Linked DNA regions of Homo sapiens: region 2 is linked to region 1. The links are contacts of gene promoters, found by promoter capture Hi-C in blood cells and fetal thymus (Javierre and others, 2016). All regions are on one chromosome and are shown on one strand. The core of a region is centred on a gene start or on the middle of the fragment in contact, and the rest is flanking DNA. Distances in the headings are between cores, read along the strand shown.

What was found. The method cuts DNA at HindIII sites, captures the fragments that hold promoters and counts their contacts. A CHiCAGO score of 5 or more calls a contact.
Region 2: a contact is called between a fragment that was not itself captured here and the fragment with the promoter of RPSA in region 1, in 3 of 17 cell types (activated CD4 T cells, naive CD8 T cells and non-activated CD4 T cells). The highest score is 6.7, in activated CD4 T cells.

Annotation. Positions count from the first base shown.
Region 1 is chr3:39,404,795-39,408,598 of GRCh38, reverse strand. RPSA (ribosomal protein SA) reads right to left here and starts at 1,879. Exons shown (of 7, transcript NM_002295.6): 1 at 1,835-1,879; 2 at 813-978. The coding sequence starts at 945. SNORA6 (small nucleolar RNA, H/ACA box 6) reads right to left here and starts at 208; the gene lies at 60-208. RefSeq lists silencers at 51-100, 1,496-1,675 and enhancers at 1,846-1,985, 1,367-2,158, 3,744-3,804. The HindIII fragment of the contact is 4,276 bases long and covers 1-3,804 here.
Region 2 is chr3:42,013,281-42,017,084 of GRCh38, reverse strand. LOC107986077 (a long non-coding RNA gene) reads left to right here and starts at 3,516. Exons shown (of 2, transcript XR_001740668.2): 1 at 3,516-3,661. It also overlaps a transcript of TRAK1 not described here. RefSeq lists enhancers at 1,749-2,250, 2,644-2,783, 3,764-3,804 and silencers at 2,974-3,043, 3,104-3,263, 3,304-3,373, 3,464-3,583. The HindIII fragment of the contact is 945 bases long and covers 1,431-2,375 here.

The DNA of each region.
Region 1 (3,804 bases), core at 630-3,129:
AGGGCAGAAGGATTTGTAACACTTGACCTGGCTGTGCAAACATTCTTCTCAAGTTTACTCTATGTGGCAGCGAGTACTACCAAACTCCAGTCATAGAGGCAAGCTCTACTGGTGTTAGCGAAAATCCTGCCATTGATATAGCACACTTCCGACACTCAGAAGTTCATGAGCCAAGACTGGCCTCCACCCTGAGCTTTAATAGTGTGCAGCCTAGATTCAGTTGGCTAAATCCATCTTTCCTTTCTCTTTCCCTGTACTTATTCCATCATTGGTTCTTAATAATCCACTTCCTGGCTTTCTGCCACTCTTTCCCTTTTATAATCTGCACTGATGCAAGATTCATCCTAAAACTCCTTTACAGCATGTCACTCCCAAGTCCTTGGTAGCTTTATCTCTAAAATAAGTAAGTGCCTTAGCCAACTTAATGCCTTCCATCCTCTGGTTCTTCCAAACCATATTGTTCATTCCCACCTCTTACCCCACTTTCCACTCAAAATTCAGTTCAATAGCCTGTGTAAGTACCTATGAAGTTGAAGGCACTATGCGAGCTATTAGAAACTCAGCCAATGAACTTTCTCATGTTCATGACCCAACCCAAGTCCCGTAACTCAGACAACTGACATATTCCTCCCCTGGAGCAGAAATCTTTTCTCTCAATAACAAGAACATTTATTTAAAGTATGTTTTCAACGTAGGGGTCTGGCTTCATTTAAGGAAGATAGAAAGAAATTACCCAGAACTAACCACGAGAATAGCAAGCTCAAAATTTGTACTTACAGCTGGAGTAACAAAAAATTAAAGCAATGACTAACCATCACTTTTCCTTTTATAGATGTACTGTTCCATCTGGAAGTCAAGATTGGTGCCACCTAAGTGGGTTCCTGCTGCAAGGAACTTAAGGACATCCTCCTCCTTCATTTGCAGGACATCAAGGGCTCCGGACATTGTGAAAATTTCCCTTTAAGTTACGACGGGAATCTGAAATAAGAGAGCAACCTATTTCTTTTCATTCCATTGAGTTAAGTAGGGCACACCCTTAAAAGCAACCAAAAACTCCATCTGCTATAGTGTCAGGCATTGAGCTTACAGTGTAGTGAAGGGTAAACAGAAAGTTAACCCATACATGTCGTGTATTACGGAACAGCGCACATCTTACTGAGGAAATAGTGTGGACGGCAGAGTAACCGAGTAATAAAACTACACGAAATTAGCGAATGGAAATTCAACACTTCTCAAGATAGGAATTAAGGAAAAGTTGTGGATGCGCCAAGTTAACAACTAGATACAAAAGAGCAGCCATGTTTGGAATATGCAAACTAAAGGCAAAAAAGGCATGAATTGTTTTCAGACATTTTCAAGCAGATTGTAGGCGGATGCTTTGGAATTACTTCGCTGTGCTGTCACCACTTGTTTGTCTAAAAACCCGAGAACCTTAACTCCTGACCCGCACGGCGCGAAGGGAAAACCCGACCAGCCCAAGTAGCTGGTGTAAATCAGCGCCTGGGCCTAGACTCACCGCCGTGTGGGACTCCGAAGGGATAGCAACACAGGATGTTAGCCCGCTTTCTGCACTCCCGCCCACCCGCGGCCTGGTCCGAACCCCAGCTCGGAGCCTCCGCTGGAGGGCGGCCTCCACCCGCTCCCGGGGCACTCTGGGAACCCGCCAGCCCGAGCCTGGCCACGTGCGGGCCGCAGGCCTAAGGTGGGGCGCGCCGGGCGGGAGACAGATCCAGTCTGACCGGCTTTCATCACTAGTCTTCTCACCCTTCATTTGAGCAGGAAAAGCTCATTTTTCTAGCCCTGGAAGGCGCCAGGGACGCTACACGGAACTCACCCAGAACAACGCCGTATGGACCCCTCTGCAGGTAGCACGGAAAAGACAGGCGGCAGGAAATGACGTCCTTATGTACTCCGTTGTCAGCCAATGGCAAAGAAAGTCGAGCGGAAGAAGGGCGGAGCCGGAGAAGAACGCTGCCGGGACTGGGCTTTTTCTTCAGGAAGGCGGGCTTGCGCCGCAGGAGCGGGCCTCTGGGCTGTAGCCGGTAGCGGCATCCTGGTCGGATCTGGGGCGCTTGTGACTTTGGGGTTTCTAGTGCCACAGCGACGCCCTGTGCATAATTCCTGTCCAGAGCGCGGAACTCAAGTTAGTCAGCCAGGCGGGGCGTTCTTACCCAGCCCTTGTACCTGCGAATATGAGCGGCTTTCTAGCCTAAGCTGCCATTTTGTTACCTGAAAAGTAGGAAGGTTTGTTCGACACAACAAATTGTTAGGTAAACAAAAACTTGAAGATTTATTTTATTTTATTTTCCTGGAGAACAGTTTAACAGGACGTAATTCAGATTTAAATGTTCACTTAAGGGAAGTTTTCTCTGAAAAAGTTAAAAAAGATAAGATTGAACTGATCGTATGCGTTATGTCTATCTCATGTATCTATCCATCTATCACCTGGGGGAAGTTTCCCTGAAAAAGTTAAAAAGGACAAGATTGAACAGATGGTATGGATTATATCTATCTTTTTTTTTTTTTTTTTTTTGGTAGAAGAAAAATTTTGCAATATCCATCAGTAGGAGATAAGTTTGCCGGGCGCGGTGGCTTGTGCCTGTAATCCCAGCACTTTGGGAGGCCGAGGTGGGTGGATTGCCTGAGCTCAGAAGTTCAAGACTAGCCTGGGAAACATGGGGAGACCCCCATCTCCACAAAAAATACAAAAATTAACCAATCATGATGGTGCGTCCCTGTAGTCTCAGCTACTCAGGAGGCTGAGGCAGGAGGATAGCTTGAGCCTAGAGGTCAAGTCTGCAGTGAATGTGATTGCACCGCTGCACTCCAGCCTGGGCAATAGAGCGAAATTCTGTCTCCAAAAAACAAACAAAAAAATAGGAGTTAATTGAAGGGGCGCGGTGGCTGTAATCCCAGCACTTTCGGAGGCTGACGCGGGCGGATCCCTTGAGGCCAGGAGTTCAAGAGACCAGCCTGGCCAACATGGCGAAACCCGGTATCTACTAAAAATTCAAAAATTAGCCAGGCATGCCTGTAATCCCAGCTACTGGGGAGGCTGAGGCGGGAGAATTGCTTGAACCCAGGAGGCAGAGGTTGTAGTGAGTGGAGATTGCGCCACTTGCACTCCAGCCTGGGCGACAGAGTAAGACTCCGTCAAAAAAAAAAAAAGTGCAGGTTCCTCTCTGGGGCCTGCTGAGTCAATCTGATTTCTGAGCCCACCCTAAAATGAACTCGTAGACCCTTATGGCCACTCTTCCAAAGGACAGCACATCCAGGTTCTCCTGCAAGTGGCTCTGCAGCTCCACTGAAGCCAGTATGATTTTCTGAGGAGCTTGGAAACCCTTGGACCCTAGCACAGGTCACCCCCAGGCTGCTCTGCTTCATCACCCACCAAGGCTGAAGCACCTGGGGCTTGAGGGACAAATTCAGAGAAGTCACAGCCCCTTGCGGCAAATGCAAATGCCTCCCGCTTCTACGCTTTGTTATGGGAAGAGGAGGCATTCAGTTTGTTGGCAGAAACTCAGGCCACAAGCCTCCTCAGAGGCCCCTGAGTCCCAAAACAATGCCCTGCCCCCTGCACCCAAATGTACTCCTGCTTAACCCTTCACGTGTGGATTGGGATTGCTGAGTAGTGAGTGCAGCTCTGCAGGGTTCCTCCAGGGGCCTCAGCCTTGGCATTAGGATCACCTGGGCAGCTTTTAAAATCTTACACCTGGGCTGAATATATCAGAATCTCTGAGTGAGACCCAAGCATCAGTAGCTTTTAAAGCTCTTGTAGGGGCTTCCCCTCCACCCTCTGAGTGT
Region 2 (3,804 bases), core at 654-3,153, 2.6 Mb before region 1:
TTTCACCATGTTGCCCAGGCTGGTCTCGAACTCCTGAGCTCAGGCAATCCACCTGCCTTGGCCTCCCAAAGTGCTAGGATTACAGGTGTGAGCCACCGCAGCCAGTGGTCAGAGTCCATTTTCAAAACCAAGGGTCACAGAATCATATATGTGAAGAGGCTGGTCATGGTACTTTAAAGTTTATCAAACTTCCCGACCATACAGTATTAAGCTCTGGCATGCACAAAAGGCTTTACTGAATATCTGCAACTCTCAGTGAGTTTAAATGACTGTTCGCCCTCCAATGCCTTTCTTACTTGAGCCCCAAAGGGTAAAAAAAGAACTGTCCCTTGCAGAAAAACTGGCCACCTATCTGCTTACTCTCCTTGGCTCTCTTATGAGCTATATGGTGCTACAGAACAATCGCATCTATAAAAACTCCGACAGCTGACGGAGAGGAGAATGCCCAAGGTCTGTTCTCTACCTTGGGAGCACGAAGTCAAGATGGAGAGCCCAGATGGTTAATTCAAGAATCACCAAACAATTACAGAGGCCTACTATATACAAGGTCAGAGGCAGGGACTCAGAATGCAACGACAGGGACTGGGAGTGGTGGCTTGCGCCTATAATCCCAGCACTTTGGGAGGTCATGGCCAGCAGATCACTCGAGGTCAAGAGTTTGAGACCAGCCTGGCCAAAGTGGTGAAACCCCGTCTCTACTAAAAATACAAAAATTAGCTGGGCGTGGTGGCAGGTGCCTGCAATCCCAGCTACTCGGGAGGCTGAGGCCAAAGAATCACTTGAACCTGTGAGGTGGAGGCCGCAGTGAGCCAAGATCGCACCACTGCACTCTAGCCTCGATGACAGAGCGACACTCTGACTCAAAAAGAAAAAAAAAAACAAAAAACCAGAATGCAATGACAGGAACAAAGTCCACTTAAGATGGCAAACCTTAAGGTGTTGTTAGTTTGGAAAGTGAAAGTTTAAGAACTCCATTCAATGTGAATAGTGCTCTATTATTTTTGAAAGCCCTTTTATTTTTATGTTTTTTGTTTTTGTTTTTGTTTTTGAGATGGGGTCTTGCTCTGTCGCCCTGGCTGAAGTGCAGTGGCGGGATCTTGGCTCAATGAAACCTCTGCCTCCCGGATTCAAGCTATTCTCCTGACTCACCCTCCTTAGTAGCTGGGATTACAGGTGCCCATCATCATGCCCAGCTAATTTTTGTATTTTTAGTAGAGACGGGGTTTCACCATGTTGGCCAGGCTGGTCTCGAACTCCTGACCTTAAGTGATCCACCTGCCTCAGCCTCCCAAAATGCTGGGAATACACGCACAAGTCACCATGCCCGGCCCAAAGCTCTTTTATATTACCTGATTTGACCCTCATAATAAACCTATAAAACAATAATTACTATTATATGCTTTATTATCCCTGTTGGGGCTCAAAAAGCTTACCAAATTACAAACCCAATCATGTTGGAAGGAGACCTGAAAACGCTCCCATGTCATTCAGTCAAACTTTTACAGACACCTCCATTTAAAACATTGTCTCCCAGAGAGGGGAGAGCAGGACAGAGAGGTTAAGTAAGGTCACACAGCCAATAGAGAGGAGTTGGAATTTCAGTCCAGGTTTCCCACTCCAAGACCACAGAGAAGGAGAAGCAACACAGCCAGAGTGGAGACACCCTCAAGCGAGCGCTGGGGATGGGAAACTGGTCCCTGGGGCATCAAACAGGAAACGGCTGGTGCTGGGGCCAAGCTGAAACCCAACTGTTGCCAAACTCGCAGCCCTGAGACAAGGGCTTTAAACCGATTCAGCATCCCCCAGAGCCGGGCTCAGCTTTCCAGCTGGCTTAGGCTACACTGGGCTGGGAACCTCTGTGACAAAGCTGAGGTCCAAGATCAAAGAGCAACCGAGTATGACCATTCCAAACCGAGAGACAGAGGGGAAGGCGCCATCTGTCACTCCAGGTCCAACTCTCCAAACCTACCAGTCAAGCTCCCAGCCTGTTGTCCCTTCACTCAATCTGGGGAGACCCTCCCCAGTGCAGACTGGCTCCAGGGCTAATCAGAGCTTAGTCTGAGCACCTTCCTCTTCGCTGCTCTTGTAGTTGGAAATTGGAAAGGACCCTGGAACTAGACCGTTTCCCTATGGTAACCTCCACTCTCCTTCCAGATAAACAAAAGACCCTCCAGAAAAGGTTACCAGTCCCGAATACACACTCACAGACAGTATTGACAACGTTTACACTTTTGAAGCAAATAAAGTTCCAGTGAAGCATATCAGAAAAAAAAAAAAATCAGCGGTCCAACGACGAATACTCTGAAGGCTCTCAAAGCGGACGCTAATTTCAGTGTCTGAACAAGTGCAGCCACGGGTTCTAAAACAGGCAAGCTTAAAGCGGAAGGGGCACCCAGCACCAGCCTCAAGAGCAGGCCGACTTTTAACATCTTTCCTGAAACACAACTTTACAAAAGAAGAAACGATACAGTTCATTACATTTGTTTTTACCTGCAAGAGCTTGACCTTGGAGACTAGAAAAGAACTTTAAAAATCAGGTCAAGAAAGTGACAAAGTAAACTTGTTAACTCTCAAGGATGCAAAGGAGGGCTCTAAAGGCTCTCTGCTCTCTGACACGCTCAGATGATGTCATTTTCATCAAGTTTTGCGGGTGAGTGGGAATCGGGGTGCTGCCCGCGCTCAGCTCCAGGCTCTTTGAAGGTCGCCTCACTGTCACCTCGGAGTGCCGGAGCGCGGAATCCAGGCCACGCGGCGTGGCCGACACGATGCCCTAGGGGCACTTTTCCGGGCTCCGAGGGCCTCCTGCAGGTGCGGCCGGTGCATTAGGAGGGCTGTCCCCGCAGGGTCCCGGCGCCCGGCCTCTCACGCCGCCACTATCTCACGCGGACACTCCCAGAACACCCGTGTCCTTCCCCAGCCCCTGGGCCCGAGGCGCAGGCGGCGCGGGTGAGCGGACCCCTGGCTTACCCGCAAGAGGTGCACGGAGCGCAACCCGGCAGCAGGCGCGGTGCCGGGGGGCCTCGGTGGGGGCTTCCTCCGCGTCGTTCTCGGCCCGGCCCCGGCCGCCCGGCGGCTTCGGTTCCCTCCGCTGCAGCCGGCCGGGCGGCACGGGGGCACTCGCGGGGGCTCCGCTCTGGCGCCGCCGCCTCCTGCTGCCCGCCTGCCGCTCTGGCGCTCCTGGGCTCGGAGTCCGGGGTTCCGAGACGCGGGGGTCGTCGGGGCGTTCGAGACTCTCGGGGACGCTAAGGCTGCGCTCCGGCTCTCCCGCGCGCGGCCCCACTCTGGGGGACGCCTCGCTTGAGGCGCGCGGGCGTCAAGGGCTCGGGGCGCGCGGGGGCGGCGGCCGGGTGGGCCCCGGGGCGGCGGGCGGGGGCGCTGCTGCGGACGCGGGCACTGTTGCGGGCGCCGCCGCGCGGCCTCTCGCCATGGCTCCCCCGCGAGCGGGCGGCTTGCACCTCCCCTCCGCGCTGCCGTCACCGCCCGACGCGCGCCGAGCCCTCCCCCTTCCCAGCCCCGCCCGCCGCCCCGCGCCGCCACCTGCGGGCCGCCCTCCAGGATGCCCGCCGGCCACGTCCTAGTCGCCTGGAGCCGCGCCCCGCCTTCCTCGCCCGCGGCTGCCCCTGCACTTTTACCCACGCCGTGGGGCACAGAGAAGTATCCGGTAAAGACCTGGATCCGGAAAAGCTGATCACATCCCTCCCCGAGCGCTTATTTACTTCTAGCACTTCTCGGGGTCCTTCCAGAGTCAGTCTAAGAGAAGGATGGGACCCCCGCGGCCCGGGGCGCTGATTGTCGTGAACACAG